Linked DNA regions of Homo sapiens: region 2 is linked to region 1. The links are contacts of gene promoters, found by promoter capture Hi-C in human tissues and cell types (Jung and others, 2019). All regions are on one chromosome and are shown on one strand. Each heading gives the region's core, a stretch centred on a gene start or on the middle of the fragment in contact. The rest is flanking DNA. Distances are from core to core; before and after follow the strand shown. Region 1 holds the start of SPATA18 (spermatogenesis associated 18). Region 2 overlaps LRRC66 (leucine rich repeat containing 66).

Region 1 (3,949 bases), core at 427-2,926:
CTTTCCAGAATTCTTAATGGAGAAGGAATGGTCAGCGCTTGTTCTTTAAAAGGGAGCAAAGGACTGAACAGGAAGCACTAGAAAGGAAGGCTAAGGAGAAAGCTGTAGCTGCTCTTTGAGCTCCCCTCCACTTCAGGAGCACTGGTTAAAGGGTGAATGGGGAAGCCTAAGGACCTCATAACAGGCAGGATCTCAGAAACAAGCTAATCTAGGCTCAAAAACTTAAAATCTGAACAGGAAATTTACATATCATCTAGACCAATCTCTGCTATTTCACAGATGAGGTACTAAGACCAAGAGAAGTTAAATAATTTGACTCCGTCATTCAGCTAGTTCTATGCAGAGCCAAATGTAGAAACAAGGGGGGGCTAATTTCCGGTCCACAGTTCTTTTGCCTGGCCGCTCCACTTATTATGTAAGAGGGGAAATCCCTATTTAAGACGGACCGACCGAATGTAAAGCAAATTCAACACTCACCGTTCTATTTGGGGGAAGGGGGGAATTATGGGGAGGCAGGGTGCGAGTAGGGATTAATGAGATTTGAAAAGTGCTCATGGGTTTGGTGACAGAATACTGGCTTCTCACAAATGCCTGGAAAAAGGCCTGAATCCGCCCTGGTGTTGGAACTGTGCCTCAATTTCCAGGCCCACCAGCACGCAAGTGAAACCCGCAACGTTAACAAGTGTCCGTTTCGCTGATTTCTGGGTAAATAACTCCTGGGTGTGTGTTTATACAAATCCATTCTGATACAAACCCTGGGCAGGAGAGGGTTGTAGTAAAAAATAATTCGGGATTGGGGAAGCAGGCGGTGTGGATTGCGCTGGCAAGGGGGATGGGAAAGAGTGGCAGGCATGACCAGACCAGCCGCGGACAGCAGGGCTTCCCTATTGCTAGGTCGCCGGCGTCCTTAGTTACCACTGATTGGAAGCACTCTCCAGTCTCCGCAGCCTAGTGCTGCGCTCCGCAGGCCGCCTGCGCGCCGCCTCCCGAAGCTCTGAGACAAGGGCATGTACACACATGTCCTTCCTTCCCCAGCGATCCCGGTCGAAAGCTGAGATCCTGGTTAGGAATCGCAACCGCGGAGGCTTTGCAAAGTGGCCACCAACTCCAGCCCTAAGAAATCCCCGACAAGGGCTGTGCTGGAACCTATGGGAGGGCGAACCCCGGGGGTTTTTCACCCAGACTCACGTTGTACTCCTTCAGCCAGAAGTCTAGCTTTTCCTGCAACGTTCGTAAAGTTTCGTTTGAGACCAGTCTTTTCAGGTTTTCCGCCATCGCTCACTATTCCTCTCGGCCCCACGCTGCGCGATGGAGACTTGGGGGGACCAGGCGGTGGCCTCCGCAGGACCGTGGGGTGATATGGCGGGAAGGGTGTTCTCTTCTGGGGGGCTCAGAGCGCGGCAGGTGTTTCCATCCTCCCCCTCGGGTCGGACCTGGCCGGGTTCGGGAAGCCAGAGGGGAGGTGCCCTGGGCCGCAGCCGCCGCGCCTCATCCGCCGTCCCGCGCGGTCTCCTGGCTCCCCAGCAGCCGCCTGAGCCCGGCCATAGATACCCTGGCGATTATTAAACAAACCTTGACGTGGACGGGTTGGCTGCCAGGGACGCGCGCGGCCCGCGTCGTGGCAACGCCCGCGCCGCCCCGCCCTGGGTGACAGCCGCGCGCCCCAGGGGTGGACTGAGACGCGCAGCCGCGCGGGCTGGAGGGCAGCAGGGCGTCTACAGCATTCCTCCCCATTCGGGGTTCTGGGTGCCCACGCGTGTCCAGAAAAGCAGAAGTTAAGTCTCTATAGAAGTTTGGGGCTAGGCTCTCAGGAGATCACCTCTTTGGCCCCTTTATTCTTTCGCCTTTCATTCCTTTAATTCTTCATTTGTAGCGCCTTGGGTTTACCTGTATGAAACTTGTAACTAAAATTTCAGTACTTCTTACTTCTAGCTTTTACTTTGTTCCTTGACCCACTGGGTGGGTACCCAAGTTAATAGAGTTTAGCTCCAGGATGTTCACAAATTAAAGTTAATCCCTCAGGTTTGGATAAGATTTGGCAGTATGTATTTTAGTACTTTTTTTTTTAGAGTCATTGAGCACTCTAAAGCTTCATTTAATTCTGAATTCTCTAATTGGGACTTTCTTGACCTAGTTTGGCACTATTTCAAAAGTGTGTATTCTGCTACAGAAACAGGTTCAACTACTTAGGAAACCATTTCGACCATCTTTAAGCGCTTTCGAAGCAAGCTCTTTTATATACCATCAAAAAATGTGCTGATTATAAATCATTCCTATCCATTCATTAAAACAGCGGTGGGGAGCAGAGCCTCAGCTGGTTAGCTAGCTAGTTTAACTTAGTTTCATCTCTGTAGGTACTTGAAAATCTGTGAACACTGCATATATTCAAGTATTGTAAAATCAAGAATTTTCACCACCTCTCATTTTTTATTTCTCTTGATTACAGTGGCTTTACTATCTGCTAATGAAAATGAAAGGCTCAGTTTTGGAGCCTGTGTTCCTACTATTTTCTGTAGACCACAAAATAAGGACTATAGGGGTATAACATGTTATTTGATTGGAGTAGAATAATAATTTCTAATGTTAAAAATACCCACTCAACAAAACAGCTAAATATTCATTAAACAACTTCATATATATATATATATATATATATATATATATGTAAAATGAATTGAGAAAAACTTCAAATTTCTCAATTTGGACCTAATAATTACATATTTCTACAGGCATTTGGAATCTTTGAACAGTCCCATTTACTTATTCATAAAAACCCATATTGGAACATTTATGTCAGATAAATTAGAGGTAAAGGATTTTTCCTTGCTGTGAGCACCTTAATTAGCCTGTAATCCTTGGTTTCATCATCTGTAAAAGGAAAATAATTCTCTCATAGGATTATTATGAAACTTAGTAAGATAATTCATGTATTTAGTACAATGCTTGGCAAAATGCAGTAGCAATTGCTCTAGTAATTGCTGTTTATTAAATATAAACTAATACTGGCCTACATTTGCTATTATTAAGAATGTGGATTAGTATGTTTATATTTAATAAAGAAAACTAGTTGTAAACAATCTAAACCTCCAACAATAGGGTAATGGTTAAGCAAATAATGAAATGTTGCACACTAAAAATCTTGTTGTTGTAGAATATATACTATCTACAAATTTTCACTATAACGAAAAAGGCAGAACACTAAATTGTATACACTGTGTTAAATTACACAATGTGAACCCAAGGTATAATTGTGGGTTATTTTAATTGCTCTTTTATATTTTTCTGATTTTTTCAAGTTTCTATCATGAATATGAATTGTTTGTATGAAAACTTATTCAGAAAAAAGTTACCCCAAACAGTTACTAACATGGTTTGGCTGAGTCCTTGCCAAAATCTCATCTTGGATTCCACGTGTTGTGGGAGGGGTCCAGTGAGAGGTAATTGAACCATGGAGTCAGGTCTTTCCTGTACTATTCTCGTGATAGTGAGTAAGTCTCACAAGATCTGGTGGTTTTGAAAAAGGGAATTTTCCCTGCACAAGCTTGCTGCCGCCCATATAAGATGTTACTTGCTCCTCCTTGCCTCCCACCATGATTGTGAGGCCTCCCTCGCCATGTGGAACTGTAAGTCCATTCAACCTCTTTCTTTTGTAAATTGCCCCGTCTCAGCAGCTTGTAAACCAACTAATACAGTAAATTCTTATGGGGATTGCAGCGCCACTGAAAATATATCCAAAAATGTGGAGCACTTTAGGAACTGAGTAACTTTCTGGAACTGAGTAACAGGCAGAGGTTGGAACAGTTTGGAGGACTCTGAAGAAGACAGGAAAATGTAGGAACGTTTCGAACTCCCTAGAGTCTTGTCAAATGGCTTTGACCAAAATGCTGATAATGATATAGACTATGAAATCCAGGCTGAGGTGGATGGAAATGAGGAATTTGTTGGGAAC
Region 2 (3,970 bases), core at 728-3,227, 39 kb after region 1:
TATGTACCACATATTTTAAAATGGGGACTATTTCTAGAACCAATGAAAAGTTGCTTTCACTCAGGAAAGCCCATTTGTGTAAGGGTGAGATATCACACGAACTAACCCTGTCTTCAGAGTCAGTTGTGGTGTCACCAATAAGCTTCATGTTGGGAAAATGCCCAAAAGAGGTGCTGGCCAATGCAATTTATAAAACAGAAGCCAGCCATGAATTTAATTTTAATGATGCTTCTACCTTCCTCCCATATTTTTGGAATACAGCATTCATAATTGAAAAACTAGTTTAAAAACATGAAAACAATGGGATCAGTCTCTGGTTAATCTGTCCTACCTTCATCAAGCAGTATTTTTGGAGTGCTCACAGAGTAACTGGAAATGCAGCAGGAACAACATCTTGTTGGGATTCCAGTTAGGTTGATAGACCAAATGTAGCAGCCTCACATTAACCAACTAAGTTCTAGAACCTAAGAGGTAAATGTGTTAGAAATAAGATAAAATAATACCTAACATTTGAAACTGGGGGAATTAAAAAAAATACACAGTGTATTATAAAAAACTAAAGTATATTGTGTTCCTTTATTCATAGAAAATTAAAGATTTCATCCTGATTGCTACTGGATTATGGAATTATCAATAAGCAATGTACTCAAAACTAATTCAGGTTCTAAAGAAACAAAAAGTATATAAGACACTAAACTAAGAAGGCAAGGCCTTTGGCTAACCTACATAATTTGACCACAATAAGATCTGACCTAATGAATCGAATATCTTACCCAGGACCATTCTAGACTCTATTCCAATTCTTAATTGCTCTTTGGACTAACAGCCATAATCCCTGAATATTGTTTTATGTTATCAGGTTATCACACTTGGGAGAGCACTTAAGTTCATAGTACAGAAGGAGTATTTACTAAGTGTAATGTCTGAGTATCCTTTCTGTGGCCTTTTTTTCTGAGAGACAGGTCATTTCTTGGAAATAATAAAACTGCCTCTGGCCACTTAAATGCAAAGGCTAATAAAATTCCTGCCTAGTGTGTCCTTTGTAATCTTTAGAAAGCAGTTCAATAAATAATTCCCTTTCCACAGAGTACCTCTATATTTTCCTCCCAGCATTCAACTCTCCTCTCTTGAAGTATAAAATGTACCCCTGATGTCCAAGCCCCAGCCGTGAATGCACCATACAGCCTCTTTTCACTCATTTGACTACCCTCTGAACATTGGCTTACCAAGCAAAAATATTAAAAGAATACATTTTCCCATTGAGAAGTGCAGTCAAGTACCATGCAAGAGTTTTCTTAAATTTCCCAACTCCATCCTGAGAGACGCTATACAAACCAGGTCTGTACCAGTTCCCTTAAAAAAATAAAATCTTAATTATCTAAAATTGAAAGTAAAGGAAAAGTTTTCATTCAGGAGGTGTAAACTGAACTTCCTGGTCTTTATTCTCATCTCCAGAAGAAGTTTACCTTCCTCTTGGAAAATCTCAGCTTGATATTATGAGGGGAGTTAAATAAGAGGATTCTCTAATAACTGCATTCAAAATCAAAATCACCCTCTCCCCACATGCTTGGGTATGTTCGGGTCCCACTCTTTTTATTTACTCCTTTTTTTTTTCTGTTTTTAGATGGAGCCTCACTCTTGTCACCCAGACTGGAGTGCAGTGGCATGATCTCAGCTCACTACAACCTCCACCTCCCGGGTTCAAGAGATTCTCCTGCCTTAGCCTTCCATGTAGCTGGGATTACAGGTGCCTGCCACCACACCCAGCTAATTTTTTTGTATTTTTAGTAAAGATGGGGTTTCACCATATTGGCCAGGCTGGTTTTGAACTCCTGACCTCAAGTGATCCGCCTGCCTCAGCCTCCCAAAGTGCTGGGATTACAGGCATCAGTCACCGTTCTCAGCCTGTTTACTTGTAATTCTTTTACACATCTTATATTACACTATTTACTTGTTTGTTGACCTTAAACAAGTCACTTAACCTAAAAAAGCTTCCTGGTCCTTATCTTTAACTGAGAATAAGTATATGTATAGGGTAGGTATAAGGTTTAGAGACAGTGTGCATCAAGACTATAACACATAGAGTGATGATACATGTAAAACATCTCTCATAGTGCCTGGCACACAGCAGGTGTTCAAAAGCATTAGTTCCCCTTTAGTGCCACTTGATCGTCCTGAGTCTTTAATTCTATATTTCCTGCCCTGGTCTTTGCTGTAACGGTAACTTCCTTGATTTCAGGCACAATAGATAATTAAAGGGGATTCTCATTCTCTGTCTTCAGATGTTTAGAGTATTCACCAACAGTCTGGGTGCCTCTGTTCATATTTATATAGGTCTGCATAATGTTGGAAGCCTCTGCTCTTCCTTTTTCAGAGCACTTTTTGATCTGTCCTCTGACTCTCTGAACCACACTGACTCATGAAACCATCACCACTATCAAGATAATTAAAACAAAAAGTATATAAGATACTCAACTAAGAAGGCAGAGCCTTTGGCTCACCTACATAATTTGACCACAATAAGATCTGACCTAATGAATCAAATATCTTACCCAGGACCATTCTAGACTCTATTCCAATTCTTATTGCTCTTTGGACTAAAAGCCATAATCCCTGAATATTGTTTTATGTTATCAGGTTATCATACTTGGGAGAGCACTTAAGAAGTTCATAGTACAGAGGGAGTATTTACTAAGTGTAATGTCTGTCACCGCAAAAGCTTCTTCATCCCCCTTTGTAATCTGTCTTTTCCACCCATCCCTTCTCCCCAACCCAGGAAACCGCTGATCTCCTTTCTGTTTCATTATAGATTCACTTGCATTTCTATAATTTTATATAAAAGGAATCATACAATATGTACTTTTATTTTTGGTCTAACGTCTTTTTTCAGCATAATTATTTTGAGACTTATCCATGTCGTTGTATATATTAAAAGTTCATTCCTACTAAAAACAGAATTACAATTCGACCTAGCAAGCCCATTAGTGGGTGTATATGCAAAGGAAAAATAAATCATTCTACAAAAAAGACACATGCACTCATATGTTCATCACAGCACCAATCACAATAGCAACTACATGGAATCAACCTAGGTGCCCATCAACAGTGGATTGGATAGAGAAAATGTGGTACATATACATCATGGTCTCCTACACAGCTCTAAACAAGAATGAAATCATGTCGTTTGCAGCAACATGGATGTAGCTGCAGGCCATTATCCTAAGCAAAGTAATATATTCTCGCTTATAAGTGGGAACTAAATCTTGGGTTCAAACAGACGTAAAGATGGGAACAATAGACACTGGGGACCACTAGAAGGAGGAGGAGTGTGGGAGGAGGGAGACTAAAGCTGAAAAACTACCTATTGAGTACTATGCTCACTACCTGGGTGATGGGATCATTTGTACTGCAAACCCTCAGCATCAGGCAATATACCTGTGTAACAAACCTGCACATGTACTCGCAAATAAAAGTTGACATTATTTTAAAAAATAAGACAAAAAGAAAAAATTTTGTGAACTGTGGGGAAAGGTTCATTCCTTTTCATTGCTGTGTAGAATTCCATCATGTGGATTCATTTATCTGTTGATGGACACTTAGATTGTCTTTTTGGCTATTAAAAATAAAGCTGCTAGATCTTTCATAAATGCTCTATGCCAGGTTGATGAAATTCTCTCTATTCCCAGTTTGCCCAAGACCTTTTCTGGATCTACTGAGATGATCATATGGGTTTCTTTTTTAATCTGTTAATTTGGAGAATTGTGTAGATTTTCTAATATTAAATCAACTTTGCATTCGTGGGATGAATTCCATTTTGTCATGATTTATTGTCTTTTTTATATATTTTGGATTCAATTTGCTAAAATTTTAAGAAATTTTACACCTATGTTCATGAGGAATATTGGGTTATTATTTTCTTTTGCTATATTGTTGATGTCTAGTTTTGGTATTAGAGTAATGTGGGCCTCAT

The links. Contacts are between HindIII fragments. The study calls those that stand out against the background at their distance.
Region 2: a contact is called between a fragment that was not itself captured here and the fragment with the promoter of SPATA18 in region 1, in 2 of the 25 tissues and cell types used here (adrenal gland and bladder).

The regions. Positions count from the first base shown.
Region 1 is chr4:52,049,031-52,052,979 of GRCh38, reverse strand. It overlaps SPATA18 (spermatogenesis associated 18), which reads right to left and starts at 1,676. Exons shown (of 13, transcript NM_145263.4): 1 at 1,189-1,676. The coding sequence starts at 1,275. RefSeq lists enhancers at 884-1,233, 1,026-1,525, 1,526-2,027 and a silencer at 1,404-1,703. The HindIII fragment of the contact is 4,960 bases long and covers 1-2,815 here.
Region 2 is chr4:52,009,839-52,013,808 of GRCh38, reverse strand. All of the region lies in intron 2 of LRRC66 (leucine rich repeat containing 66), which reads left to right. Among named protein-coding and RNA genes, the nearest start is that of LRRC66, 8.5 kb to the left of the region's middle. The HindIII fragment of the contact is 4,965 bases long and covers 1-3,970 here.